Regions from separate parts of the Homo sapiens genome. Here region 1 is linked to region 2. Evidence: promoter capture Hi-C in human tissues and cell types (Jung and others, 2019). All regions are on one chromosome and are shown on one strand. The core of a region is centred on a gene start or on the middle of the fragment in contact, and the rest is flanking DNA. Distances in the headings are between cores, read along the strand shown.

Region 1 (7,252 bases), core at 379-2,878, 890 kb before region 2:
ACCTGACTAATTTTGGTATTTTTAGTAGGTTTCACTATATTGGCCAGGCTGGTCTCGAACTCCTGACCTCAGGTGATCCTCCTGCCTTGGCCTCCCGAAGTGCTGGGATTACAGGCGTGAGCCACTGCGCCCAGCTAATATTCAGTTAATTTTTTAAAAATGCTTTCCTCCTTTCCGTCTTGTCTCCTTAATGCTGCTTAACGCCTCATTTGCTTCTTTTGCCTGTGCTTTTGGAGACAGGGCAGGCAGGTGAGCGGCAGCCTGTCTCATTCCATTCCCTCGGTAGCCTCAATTTTTTGCAGTGTGCCATCTACAGCTTAGTTTTCATCTCTAGTTCTCATATTACTTTTCAAGATCAAAAACCTATTTCTCAATATGATTCATGCTCCTTGGAGACTTGTGCTAATTATAGTTTGATGATATTGACTCTGCTGGATTTGGGGCGATGTCATTTTATGACGTCCCTTTCTTGTGTTTATCAACACTGGTTTGCTCAATTCACGTTTCCTTTTCATTTATTCTAAGAGTTACAGCTCTCCAATAGAATTAGATTCTTTCTATCTTTAGAGCAGCATGTTAATTTTTTTTTATCCTTCTCAACATTATTTCTAAATTGTTGAGTCTTTTTAATGATAACTAAAACCAACACTACTTTTACAATGACTCAATGGTGAGTCAAAATTCTTGTATCTAAGTTTGCTAACATAAATTTACTGTAGATTAGTCTTTTGCTAGGATTTGACTGGGGCGGCTGTGTACAGTTGTGCAGGCTGTTCACTGCATCCCCAAGGGGATGAATGCAGGCTGAAGCATGCCAAGTCATGCACTTTGGTGTGAAGCTGCGTCTTCCCAAGGAAGTAACTCCTTTCTCAAACGCACACAAAGACTTTTTACCAACTAGTGGAATCCTGGATCTGATCATTTTATACAGATCCTCAGCTTGCAATGCTATCCGTGAAGTCCTTGCCAAAAGCTTCCTAATGTGAGCACATCCAAAGTCTGGAGGACCACAATTGCTAGTGCACCAACCTTGTAGATCTCTTACCTTCAGGCTGTAGAAAAGCATTCCAGCCCATTGCAGAGTACATAGGAAAGCGGCGGCTATGGCTTCTCTATGCTCCTAGCTCTCTGCGCCAGTTTCTCCACTGACCTTAGATGATACTTCTAAGTATCATCTTCTAAGTATCTAAGGATAAGCCCCAACATAGCTTATCCTTTTATAGTAGGGAGGAAAACTTCTACCCCTTAGGACCTCCTGTTTTTCCCCAGACTTCCATAGCCCTTCTGTGCTTCGATCTCACCCGCCCATTTCCAGGGTCCAGACTTCTCTTGTGCTGGTTTTTAGCCTTCTATCTGGTCTTCTGTTATAAGGTGCACTGCTAAGAGGAGTGGACATGGAGAAGGGAGAGGGGCAAAGAGGGTGGGCCAGATATCGTCAGCACTGTTCCTAGCACCATTTTTTTTTTTTTTTTGAGATGGAGTTTCACTCTTGTTGCCCAGGCTGGAGTGCAATGGCGCAATCTCAGCTCACCGCAACCTCTACCTCCTGGGTTCAAGCAATTCTCCTGCCTCAGCCTCCTGAGTAGCTGGGATTACAGGCATGCACCACCATGCCTGGCTAATTTTGTATTTTTAGTAGAGACTGGGTTTCTCCATGTTGGTCAGGCTGGTCTCGAATTCCCGACCTCAGGTGATCCACCCGCCTTGGCCTTCCAAAGTGCTGGGATTACAGGCGTGAGCCACCATGCCCGGCCTTGTTCCTAGCACCTTTTATGCTCTTCTCTGTATCTTAGGCCTTAGAAGCCTAGGGACTATATTTCTGAAATGCCTTTGCCAACAGGCTTTAGGATACAGCTGAGAAGATGTGTCTGTGCCAGGTTTGAAAAGCTGAGGCTGCAACAGGTGTGTGGGCTTCCAACAGATGAATCTGCAGCCCCTTTCATGTTTCCTTAACTGTTATTAGCCCAGGGCTTGTAGGCATCTGGGACTACTGGCAGTGGTTTTCTGCATTTTACTCACCTCTGGGTGGCAGGTGCCGCTTCCTGACCCCCTGGACCAACCACAGCTTTGGTGACAAATTTGAAAACTAGGATTGAATTCCCTGAAACTCATCGTAGAAACCTTTTACAGAGGCCGGGCGCGGGGGCTCATGCCTGTAATCCTAGCACTTTGGGAGGCTGAGGCAGGCGGGTCACGAGGTCAGGAGATCGAGACCATCCTGGCTAACACGGTGAAACCCCGTCTCTACTAAAAATACAAAAAATTAGTGGGGCGTGGTGGCATGTGCCTGTAATCCCAGCTGCTGGGGAGGCTGAGGCAGGAGAACCGGGAGGCGGAGGTTGCGGTGAGCTGAGATTGTGCCACTGCACTTCAGCCTGGGTGACAGAGCAAGACTCCATCTCAAAAAAAAGAAAGAAACCTTTTGCAGAGAGGATTCAGAGTTTTATTCATAACTCCCAAAATATTCCAAACAATTGCCTTAAATCTTAAATATTGATGTGAATATTTACTCAATGACTTGGAATTGTTATGCTAACTTTGGAAATATCTCAAAAGAATGATTATTCATCTACTTTGCATTTGAAACTTACAAATTTTGGGTTTCACTTCCTTTCATTTGTTATTCATATAAGAAGTATTTACCAAGTAAAAGCTACTTGATTATAAATCCCCAAAGGGCCTGGCTCCATGAATTATTCTGTTTCTCATATGCGCCATCTTTCCTGCTTCCCTTGGCCTAAGAACATATGGAAGTTTATACCAATCTAAAAATAATCACTAAATAACAAGGCCTCTCTTGGTTCATATTTTCCCTTTATGACCACTTTTTCTAATTAATTATCTTTTCATCCAAACTTCTTCAATATATACTTGGTCTCTTGAATTTCTTTCTTTCTTTTTTTTTTTTTTAAGAGGGAGTCTCTCTCTGTCACCCAGGCTGGAGTGCAGTTGCACAATTTTGGCTCACTGCAACCCCCAGCTCCCGGATTCAAGTGATTCTCCTGCCTCAACCTCCTGAGTAGCTGGGATTACAGGCATCTACCACCACACCTAGCTAATTTTTATGTTTTTAATAGAGATGGGGTTTCGCCATGTTGGCCAGGCTTGTCTCAAACTCCTGACCTCAGGTGATCTGCCCACCTTGGCCTCCCAAAGTGCTGGGATTATAGGCATGAGCCACTGCACCTGGCCTCATGGTCCCTTGAATTTCTGATGTTTTATGGAATATTTGAAAGTTTTCTGCCTGGAAAGGAGGGAGGATTATGGATCAAAAAGTTTGAATTAAACAAAATGTTGGAGACTGCTTTCCACGGTCTTCAATATGCTGATATGCATTACAAAGCCCCACAACGGAGGTGGGGATGGGGTCACGGATTTCAGTGCTTCCTGAATGCTTTGGACTGAAAATCCATCTGCTGTGTCCAAAATCGCTAAGGACCTCCCGTTGTTAAATTCAATGGGCATGTAACAGGGTGTGGAATTGTTGTTAGCAGAAGAAACTGACATGTGAAAGTTGCCAGCCATTTCTATTTCTGGCATGGGGACACTGAGTCATCTTGAAGCTGACTTCTTTGGGAAGAACCACTGGAGTGGCTCCCTTTAGTGACAGAGCCGTAAAGTTTCTGGGGTGCGCACACAACAGCACGCTCACTCAATATTCCCTTGGCTGGGGCTGGGACCCAGGCTTGCTAGGCAGACTCCAGTGCCTTGATCTCAGGTTGCTGGGGTGGTGGTGGCAGTTTGCCTGGAAGCCAGAACACTTTCTGGAAGGAAGGATATTGACACTTCAACTATTCTCTTTGTTGTCAGGATCTTCAGGGGGCCTCAGAAAATAGTTCTCTTCTTCCCTGCCTGGGTTCTGAACAAGTGTGAAACCAGAGAAAGGCAGATGAGAGATTTAAAACTTTTTTGTATGTGACTGACAAAGGCTTGGTTGGAGGGCGTGATTTTCTGTTGGGGAACGTCACCTGCTAATGGGGTGCTCTAGCATTTTCCAGATGTGTCCACACAAGCCTGGCCCCTGCACCCATACTGTGCTCTCCTTCCTCTCCCTAGACAATCTCACTCCTTCTCATGGCTTTGCTCACCTCCTCCCCACATCTTCAGACCTCTGTAATCCACTGATTGCTGGCAACTTTCTGGGCATCTCAAAATCAGGATCTCACAATGTTACTGGAAAGGAGTCCCGATCTAGACCCCAAGAGAGGGTTATTGGATCTCGTGCAAGAAAGAATTCAGGGTGAGTCCACAGTGCAAAGCAAAAGCAAGTTTATTGAGAAAGTAAAGTGGGGCCGGGCGCGGTGGCTCATGCCTGTAATCCCAGCACTTTGGGAGGCCGAGGCGAGTGGATCACCTAAGGTCAGGAGTTCGAGACCAGACTGACCAACATGGAGAACCCTGTCTCTATTAAAAATACAAAATTAGCCAGGTGTGGTGGTGCATCCCTGTAATCTCAGCTACTTGAGAGGCTGAGGCACAAGAATCGCTTGAACCCGAGAGGTGGAGGAGGTTGTGGTGAGCAGAGATTGTGCCATTGCATTCCAGCCTGGGCAACAAGAGTGAAATGCTGTCTCAAAAAAAAAAAAAAAGAAAAGAAAAGAAGGTAGAGTGGTGAAAGATGGCTACTCCATAGACAGGGTAGGGCGTTCCCGAAGGCAGAAGAAGAAACATGTCCACCCTAGGTATAATACTCATTTATGTAGGATAAAGAAGATCATGGGGAGATGTGCTCTGCTACAAGGGTTTGTGATAAAGGATTAATTTTCTTAATGACTATATCTTGCAAGAATCGATATTACTATCTTTAAAGCAAAATTAGGAATGCTTCTGTTCTCAAGATATTGGGATATCAGGATGTTATATATAAAATGTTTATTCAGAAACAGAATGCTTGTTCCTTGGTACCATAAGGAAAAAAAAATCAGCATTTAGACAAAAAGTTTTCTCAGCAAGGTTATTTTACTTTCTGCAGAAAGGGTGCTCCTCGCAGATGGAAAAATGGCAAGAGCACACCTGAATAAAGGAGGGAAGCAATTTTTATCCCTTACGCAGCTTGTCCCTGCTACTCTGTCCTGTCTCCATTGGCTGGAGCCAGACCTCACAATCTAAACTGAACCCAATTGGCTGACAATTTAAAACTTCTCTAAATAGGTAAAAGCAATGGAGAACAAAGGAAAAGAGGAAGTTGCTTACGAAAGGACTTAGAAAAGTAATAACATTCCCAAATAAGGAAGGGGCATAGGCTGTGAGCTGGGACATGCCTGTGAGCACCTCCAGCACAGATATCTTGGTTAAAGTACAAGGACATAGAATGTACTATGTGCCTGTGAGCACATTTAACAGCTACATAGGATAGGGCTTAACAAAGAGTTATTAGCACAAATCAAGGAAGCTTGAAGGAAGTTAGTCTTTAAAAGAAACTATTATTTCTAACACTTATGATTTATTCTTTAACAAAAAGGGAAACTGTGAAGAGGAAACTTTTTACTTTCTACGGTTCCCTCCTCTTGATTTCATAGTTTTTTCCTCTGCAAACTTTCTTAACATGTCTTGTTCTAGCTATTTTGCTTGAGTTTTTAAAAGAAAAAGCTTTTCTGGTTGATGAAATGCCAGGGTAAAAGGGATAGCCAATTGAACTAGAGTGCAAGTACTGCTCTAATTGTTTGGCAGAATGTCCAGTAAAGGTCCTCTACAATACTACCATACATCTGCTTGGTGATGAATAATGGTGGACTGATGGGTCAGCTCTTGGAAGTGCCTGAACTCACTGCTTGTTAAGTCTCCAAGGAATGCCAAATTTTCCCCTTGTCGTTGGAGAAATGAGGTAAAATTGGTCTTGAAAGATGGAGGCTGTGTGGGCAGCAAGCCATCCAGGTGCTGAGGCAAGAGACCGAGGGCACAAGCTGTTCCAGTATAATAAAGAAAACACATAGAAGAGGAATAGTTGTACTAGAAATAGGATATAGATATGATTATATATGAATATTATTAATCATTAGTTTGTAGCATTACTCTTTATTCCACTGTTATAATAATTTCTGTTCTACAATTATAACCTAGGAAAAACCAGGCCATACAGAGATAGGAGCTGAAGGGGCACAGTGAGAAGTGACCAGAAGGCAAGTGTGAGCCCTCTGTCACGCCCGGATAGGGCCACTAGAGGGCTCCTTGGTCTAGCGGTAACACCAGTGCCTGGGAAGGCAACCGTTACTTAGCTGACCTTGGTCTAGCAGTAATGTCAGTGCCTAGGGAAGGCACCCGTTACTTAGCAAACCGGGAAAGGGAGTCTCCCTTTCCCCAGGGGAGTTAGAGAAGACTCTGCTCCACCACCTCTTGTGGAAGGCCTGACATCAGACAGGCCTGCCCGCAGCCATCCAGAGGCCTAAACGTCTCCCTGTGATGCTGTGCTTCAGCGGTCACGCTCCTGGTCCACTTTCATGTTCCACCCTGTATACCTGGCTCTGCCTTCTAGATAGCAGTAGCAGAATTAGTGAAAGTACTAAAAGTCTCTGATATGCAGAAATAATGGCGTAAGCTGTGTCCTCTCTCTCCGCCTTGGCTGTCAAACAGGGAAGGGCCGCCTGTCCAGTGGACATGTGACCCACGTGACCTTACCTATCATTGGAGATGGCTCACACTCCTTACCCTGCCCCCTTGTCTTGTATCCAATAAATAACAGCACAGCCTGGCATTTGGGGTCACTATCAGTCTCCACATCTTGGTGGTAGTGGTCCCCTGGGCCCAGCTGTCTTTTCTTCTATCACTTTGTCTTGTGTCTTTATTTCTATGATCTCTTGTCTCTGCACACAGGGTGAAAGACCCACAGACCCTGTAGGGCCGGTCCCTACAAGGCTGGATGGCCCTCGGGGGCTGACCCACAGGGTACTGCATTTTAGGAAATAGCAGAGAGAGTTTGGCACAGTTCACTGTCACAGGCTGTAGGATTTTGAAAAAGAGCTACCAGGAAGTCCATGTCTTGTCGATTAGAGGATTATCTGAGTGGAAAGGGGACAACCTGGACCTCTGGCCTACCACGCACACAAGCGTAACGATTGCATTTATTTAGAGTGCAGATGGAATATTTAATCCATTTTAGCCAGGCATTTACATCCTGATACCTTGTCTCAATTGTTCTTGTTTGCCTTAGGTTTTTTACTTTTACTATAGAGACTTTGGTCTTGTCATTGTGTCTGGGAGGAGTGATAACTAAACAGGCATTAAAAGTAGTAACTTGAGGTGAGTTAGATTTAGT
Region 2 (7,251 bases), core at 1,998-4,497:
TAAAGCCTGTTTGCAACAGTGAATTTTTAATCGTCAAAACTGAAGGATCTCAAAGAATTTTAATATGTACTTCCCCCACCCTGCTACCGTCAGAAGGAAAAGTTGTCATCATAACTGTTTTCTAAAGACAGAGATGAAAGGAACTGCTCAATTTCACAACTTGTAATTATTAGAGGGAAAAGTACTTAATGTTGAAAATATTAAGTGAACATTGAGAAGGAATATGAGACAAAGATCAGCACATCATTTTGGCTAGGAGAGAAAAAGAGCTAAAGGGAAAGAATGGTGCCTAAGCTAATTCATTCATTTTATGTGTTTCTTTATGATAAAGTTTAAGAAATTTTTTTCTAAAATACTTTACCTTCCTGAAACCACCAGAGTTCCATCATCGAGTAAATAATCCTTCACATTCTGAGGAAGTGGAAGAATGACACTAAAAAAAAAACACCAAAAAAGGCATCATTTTAAAAGACCAACTATAAGCAGAGAGAAAAATCTCTACACTTGATTAATTTTGGAATTGTCTTTCTTTTAATATAAAGTAGAAAATGTTAATGATGTACATTTGGTAGCAGTAGACAAGAAATCAGAATAATAAGATTACTGCGGTTCATCTTATTGCCACAATGGTCTTTGTAGTAAACAAAAACCAGCCAAATCCAAACCACCAGATGGAAATCACAGTATGAAAGCAACAAGCTCAAAAGGATTCTGAGTGAGCACAACATTTATGTGTCTTTAAGAAATCAGAGACCAGCAGATATTTGCTGCAACACAGGAAATGCAGCAAACCCAACTAGAAGATGACTAGCATTTGGTCACCTTCTAAAGATAGAGGGCAGAAGTAGAGTCAAGATCTGGAAACCATTCTTGGGTTGGCAGTGAGCACCTACCGCTAAGAATTCATGATACTTTTGGATGTGTCTTGCTGGCTTTCTATTCAACTGATCACCAGAGATATAAAGCTGCTTAAACTAGGCATGCTTTAGCTTAATTTGTTTCAGGTAATCATAATTAAGGATGGCAAAGCCATACCTGAAGTCTCTTAAAAACTTATGGGATAATTTGTTTTTTACCTTGAAATAATAAATTATCAAAAAGCCCTACCACAGATCCCTAAGAGTGCTGGTATTATTTTGATTTTGAGGCATATACATCTTCAAAAAGTGGAAAAGATTACAGCCTGCTTTCCCGAAGTTAACAGAACATCAATGACTTATAACATGTCTCATTTATTTATGGAAGAAGTTTTTTTTGGCACATTACAAATGGTTTTTTTGCACAAAAAAGAGTATTCATGGGCTACTTCGGTTTTAAAAATAAGTATTTTTATTTATTTTTAAATAAATAAAAGATCACTGCCACTGCACTCCAGCTTGGGCGACAGAGCAAAAACTTCGGTTTTAAAAATAAATATTTGATTTATCAAAGGTACAATTTCACATTCAAAAATCTAGTTCTGGCCGGGCGCGGTGGCTCACACCTGTAATCCCAGCACTTTGGGAGGCCGAGGCGGGCGGATCACGAGGTCAGGCAATCGAGACCATCCTGGCTAACACGGTGAAAACCCCGCCTCTACTAAAAATACAAAAAATTAGCCGGGGGTGGTGGCGGGCGCCTGTAGTCCCAGCTACTCAGGAAGCTGAGGCAGGAGAATGGCGTGAACTCGGGAAGGGAAGCTTGCAGTGAGCCAAGATCGCTGCCACTGCACTCCAGCTTGGGCGACAGAACAAAACTCTGTCTCAAAAAAAAAAAATCTAGTTCTTCAGGCTTTTAATTTCTTCTAACAAATCTTATTACGTTTGAAAATCTACTAAATTTTAAACAATTTCAAGCGAAACTTTGCAACTTAAAAGTCTCTTTAAAATTTTAAATTCTATTCATAAACCACTCAATTTTCTTTCTTAATATGTCTATTTGCTGATTACAAATAAGCCTTCCTAAGTATTTTACTCTTACAAAGCTAACAAGCGAAATTGTTAAGTACAATGAATCTAAGGTTCTACCACACATTCCAATACTATTTAAGAACTTGAAACTTTTCTTATACATTTTAACCATTCTAAGCCAGTTACACATTTTCAAGTACATATCCGATCTTTATTGAATGAAACCATCATATAATGAATCAGCAATTACTGAAATGTTGGCTCAGAAAATCAGTTAAGTGCAAAGCCCAGATTTTCTATCAACGCCTTTAAAAAAACTGAGAGATGAAATTGTATATATTAATACTTGCCGCCTACCTGATGTTTTTAAGTATATATACACTGTGGAATAAATTTAGCTAACAAATGCATTGCCTAACATAGTTATTTTTGTGGTGAGAACACTAACATCCACTCTCCGTTTTTCAAGAATACGTATATCGTCATTAACTATAGCCTCCATGCTGTACGACATATCTGTGAACTTGTTCTCGTATCTAACTGTAATTACGTATCCTTTCACCTTCCCAATCTCCATCCTCTGGGGTGATGGCGAAAAGCAATTAATTCTCCGAGTGCACTTAGGCAGTGATCACCTTGCGCCTGGGGCCATTCTAAAAGTAGTGGTGGTGAACTCCCAAGCCTAAACTAGGTTAATCCACTATTCCTCCCGCCTCCGACCCTCACTGAAAACCACAACTGACCCTCCTAGCCAGCACACTCGCTGGCTCGCAACAGGACGCAGACAATTGCTGATGTACTTCCCTCTCGACACACTCCCTCCCATGCAGTCGCTAGAAGGCCTGCATTTTTTTGGATAGCAGTAAGATTCGCTCAGAAGTCGCAGTTCCCTTTTGCCGGTCGACCGGGCGAACCCCCTCCCATCTCACCTCTTGATGGTAACGCCTCGGAAGAACGGGTACCACGCGGAGAACTGGCAGTGAAGCACATGCTCCTTCTTCATCCTCCAGCTGCCGCCGCTGCTGCCTTTCCCTCTCCTGCCTGCACCCTCCCGGAACTCTGGGCGCCGGCCCCGGAAGTGCCCGCCGAGCTATTTTGGTTCAAGGACTCTTCCGGTCCCTAAAGCAAGAAGGAAGACCGAGAAAAGGAAGCGGAGGAGAATCCCGGGGCATACGCTTGACACACACGCATACAAAAAGAGCTTTAGTCTCGAAAGAGGAATTACCGAAGTGTCGAGAGAGGAATTTTAAGAAGTTTACAACTCCGTCTTCGCCCTAAACGCACGCTGACCCGGAAAGTAATCTCCTGAAGCTAGGTCAAAGGCGGGGGTTCTACGGATGCCGGAAGGAGGGTGCGCGCCCATCCTTTTAGCACCGCGAGAGGCGCCGGTGTTTCGAGCCGTGGCACCGGCATCGGCTGACACTGCTGCCTCCAGCTAGTTATTTCGTCCTCTTCCGTTCTTCACCCCTACACCTTGGAGTAAGTAACCGGGGCAAGCCAGTCACAGCACAAAACCTCTTTGGGGAGGAGAAGAAGAAGGGGAAAGGGACCACATCTGCATGGTGCGTGCAGCCGCGCGGTGTCTCCCAGGCTGCGGCTGGGCACGCGTCCAGGCGCCCAAGAGGGAAACTGGGGATTGGAGGGAAATTGTGGATTGGAGAGGAAGAGCCTGGGCTACTCCGAGTAAAGAAAGCGGGGAACACCACAGCTAAGTGTTAGTTCCAGTGTAAAGATTGCAGCATCTGCAGAGGAGTAGAATGCTTGGTAGAGGGAATACCGCCTGTACGATCCTGGAGGGTTCGACTTTGGGAGGTAAAAGGCGAGAGGTAAATGTGAGAAAGCAGAGGAAAGAGGAGTCTCCTTGGAGCGCTGAATTCGTTTAGTCTGGCCTCGCAAAAGTTGTCAACCTGGAAAAAACGCAGATTTTTATCAGTATTCCTGCGATGATCGAATCATAAGACTGGAAGAATTCGAATCGAACTTGTACTATCGTTTTTTCCTTTGCTTCACTCCTGTCACCCAGCAAAGTTCAGTTTTGTTTGTTTCGTTAAAAGAATGAGAAGTAACTAGCTGCTTTTATTTATTTATTTGAGACGGAGTCTCACTCTGTGCCCAGATTGGAGTGCAGTGGCGCAATCTTGGCTCACTGCAACCTCCGCCTCCTGGGTTTAAGTGATTCTCCTGCCTTAGCTTCTCGAGTAGCTGAGAGCGCGCGCGCGCCACTACGCCGGCTAATTTTTGTGTTTTTAGTAGAGACGGCGTTTCACCATATTTGCCAGGCTGGTCTCGAACTCCTAACCTTAGGTGATCTGCCCGCCTCAGCCTCCCAAAGTGCTGGGTTTACAAGGCGTGAGCCACGGCCCCGGGCCTACCAACCAGCCGCTTTTAACCCCTAGTCGTGTCGCTTACCACACGAGCTTTAGGCTTGCGCGAGGCATCTGCGTCTAAAAGTATCTCCTTAAATGTACATTCTTCCTGGTTCACCTAAGTAGTTTTAAATTAGAAACAGCCCCACCGACTGCAGGCCTCTTCAGAAGGGTGTTCCTTAGAATAATAAACAATTATCTGCGTATTTTGAGTTAGAAACTCTTCCCCCCAGGAATATATACATTGTTTTGGGTTGTGTTTTGTTTTTCTCAAAAATGTTACTGGCTAAGTGGCTAGTTGGAAGCAGTGCTTTAAAGAATACATTTTCAAAGCAGAGGTAAATAGATTATAATGTTGCAGAGTATGTTGGTGGGGATGGACAGTCATGATTCATCATTTATGCCTTGATCCGGAACTATGCAGTCCTTTCTGATTTGAGGGAAAGAAGCAATATTGTATATATGTCTGGAGGGTGGTGCCAGAAAGACTTAATGGCAGACAGGAGCAGTCGCTCAAATAATTGTTTTGATTTGACTTAGAAAGTAAAAAATTGCGCGGAAGGAGATGTTAGCATCGATGGGGGATTTATTTAGGTCAGATGTTTTCTAATGAAGATAGGAATGAATGTACGGAAGAGAATAGATCCCGGGAACATAGCCCTTCTGCGAGGAGCAGTACTTTAACAGCCCAAGAAACATTTGAGCATAGGCCGGGCGCGGTGCCTCATGCCTGTGATCCCAGCACTCTGGGAGGCCGAGGCGGGCGCATCACCTGAGGTCAGGAGTTTGACCAGCCTGTCCAACATGGCGAAACCCCGTCCCTACTAAAATATCAAAAATTAGCCGGGCGTGTTGGCGCATGCCTGTAGTCCCAGCTACTCGGGAGGCTGAGGCAGGAGAATCGCTTGAATCCGGGAGGCGGAGGTTGCGATGAGCCGAGATCGCGCCACTGCACTCCAGCCTGGCAACAGAGCGAGACTCTTTTTTTTCCGTCTCGGGAAAAAAAAAAAAAAGAGTGTAGAGATTAAGGCAGTTGCAAAGCTTTAATATAGAATTGCAGTTGTGTGTAGAAAAGCAGCTAAGTTTGTAAGCTTAAATATATAGATACTACAGGGAAGGAATTTTTATAGATACCTTTTATTCAGGCAGTATACTTTAGAAGTGTGTTCAATGACTTTTTGGTATTACAGTTGGTTTTAAGTAACTTGTTACACATTTAACCAGCATCAAATAAATTGACATTATACATAGGAGATGCTCAAATACTTTGAATGGATACAGCTAAATGAGGGTTCACTGTATTTTAACCACCGTGGTTGTCTTCACTAAGCCATGAAGTCATTGTATTCATCAAGTTTCTCCAATAAAACCTTTCAACAGTGGAAATATTTGCTTTTTCTCCTGCATGCTGAAAAGTCAGTAGTCATGTGATTATGGGGGAGGAGATTTATTGTGCAATTCCTAATGAAGTAATGAAAAAACACATTTCTTTCTCTGAATCCATAGCATGACTAATCATCCTAGATTAAGATTTTCACCTGTCTGCTGGTTTTCTTCATCTGGATGTCTGCTATCACCTCAAACAAGCGTGTACAGATTTGAGCTCTGCATCACCCCTTTTTTCTTCCGATGTCCCAGTCTCCCTTAAAACTGTCTTCGTGGAAATTAAATGTCACTTTGCCACGGCTACCACTCTACTCCAGACCTGTCATCTCCTGCCTGGACTATCTTTACAGTGTCGTTACTATACGTCTGTAACCAATTCACCTTCCCAAGGGTCATTACAGTCAGTTCACTCTTGCTCAACCAGCATTAAATGTGAGGATTTTAAACCACCTGCTAAATGATTCCTGGAGATCACCAAGTAGCATAATTTCAGTAAACGTTAATTACTCCCTGCCCACCCAACTGCCACACCTGAAGAGAATGAAAAAAAAACCCATAAGTGAATTCAATTGTGGGTACCCAAATTTTTTACCATAAATGGCACAAAAGAAGGATACATCAGAATATTATCCTTTTTTTTTCTTTTGAGACAGAGTCTCGCTCTGTCGCCCAGGCTGGAATGCAGTGGTGCAATCTTGGCTCACTGCAACTGCTGCCTCCTAGGTTCAGGCTTTTCTCGTGCCTCAGTCTCCCAAGTAGCTGGGACTACTGGCGTGTGCCACCTCACCCAGCTAATTTTTTGTATTTTTAGCAGAGATGGGGGTTTCACTATGTTGGTTAGGCTCGAACTCCTGACCTCAAGTGATCCACCTGCCTTGGCCTCCGAAAGCGCTGGGATTACAGGCATGAGCCACCGAGCCCGGCCAGAATATTATCTTTTAAAAATAGAATTTAAAAATTTTTAACTATGACCAAAATTATTAAATATAACTGCAAATTATTTGATTCTTTGTTCCTTCTAAATCAAGTGACTTTTCTTTGTAATTATTCTGCCAGAATGTAGATTGCCACTTTAGACATGCCCAATTTGATGCCTGACTTTAACAAGACAATCATAAAGTAAGTTATTACTGCAAAAAAAATTGATCCTCTCTCCCACTTAATTTCTTTTCTTTTCTTTTCTTTTTTTTTTTGGAGACAGAGTCTCACTCTGTCACCATGCTGGAGTGTAGTGGCATGATCTCGGCTCACTGCAACCTCCACCTCCCTCGTTCAAGCGATTCTCCTGCCTCAGCTCCCCACTTAATTTCTTTCAAAGTGCCTTGTTGATTTCCCTATTCAATTATTAAACTGTTCCAAGTGCCTGACCCTCTTTTGTCAGTCAGAGGCTCTACTTATGATGTGGGCTCCTGCATCTTGTATTTGGTTGAGTATTGTTGATATTAACAATATTCATCTTTTATCAGGAGAGACCTAGCCAACATACAATTTCTTGTTAGGATTTTTTGCTTCACTTTGCAGCCTCAGCAGATGGCCGGGATTCGGGTACGGTGATTGAGTAATGAGCCTCAGTGCCAACTGCAGAACCAGGCTTTTGAGTTCATAGTTTA

What was found. Contacts are between HindIII fragments. The study calls those that stand out against the background at their distance.
Region 1: a contact is called between a fragment that was not itself captured here and the fragment with the promoter of NUDT5 in region 2, in 1 of the 25 tissues and cell types used here (dorsolateral prefrontal cortex).

Annotation. Positions count from the first base shown.
Region 1 is chr10:13,081,625-13,088,876 of GRCh38, reverse strand. It overlaps a transcript of CCDC3 not described here. Among named protein-coding and RNA genes, the nearest start is that of OPTN, 15 kb to the left of the region's middle. The HindIII fragment of the contact is 7,727 bases long and covers 1-5,491 here.
Region 2 is chr10:12,191,887-12,199,137 of GRCh38, reverse strand. It overlaps NUDT5 (nudix hydrolase 5), which reads left to right and starts at 3,247. Exons shown (of 10, transcript NM_014142.4): 1 at 3,247-3,368. It overlaps CDC123 (cell division cycle 123), which reads right to left and starts at 2,950. Exons shown (of 13, transcript NM_006023.3): 1 at 2,819-2,950; 2 at 362-433. The coding sequence starts at 2,892. RefSeq lists an enhancer at 2,934-3,203. The HindIII fragment of the contact is 7,930 bases long and covers 167-7,251 here.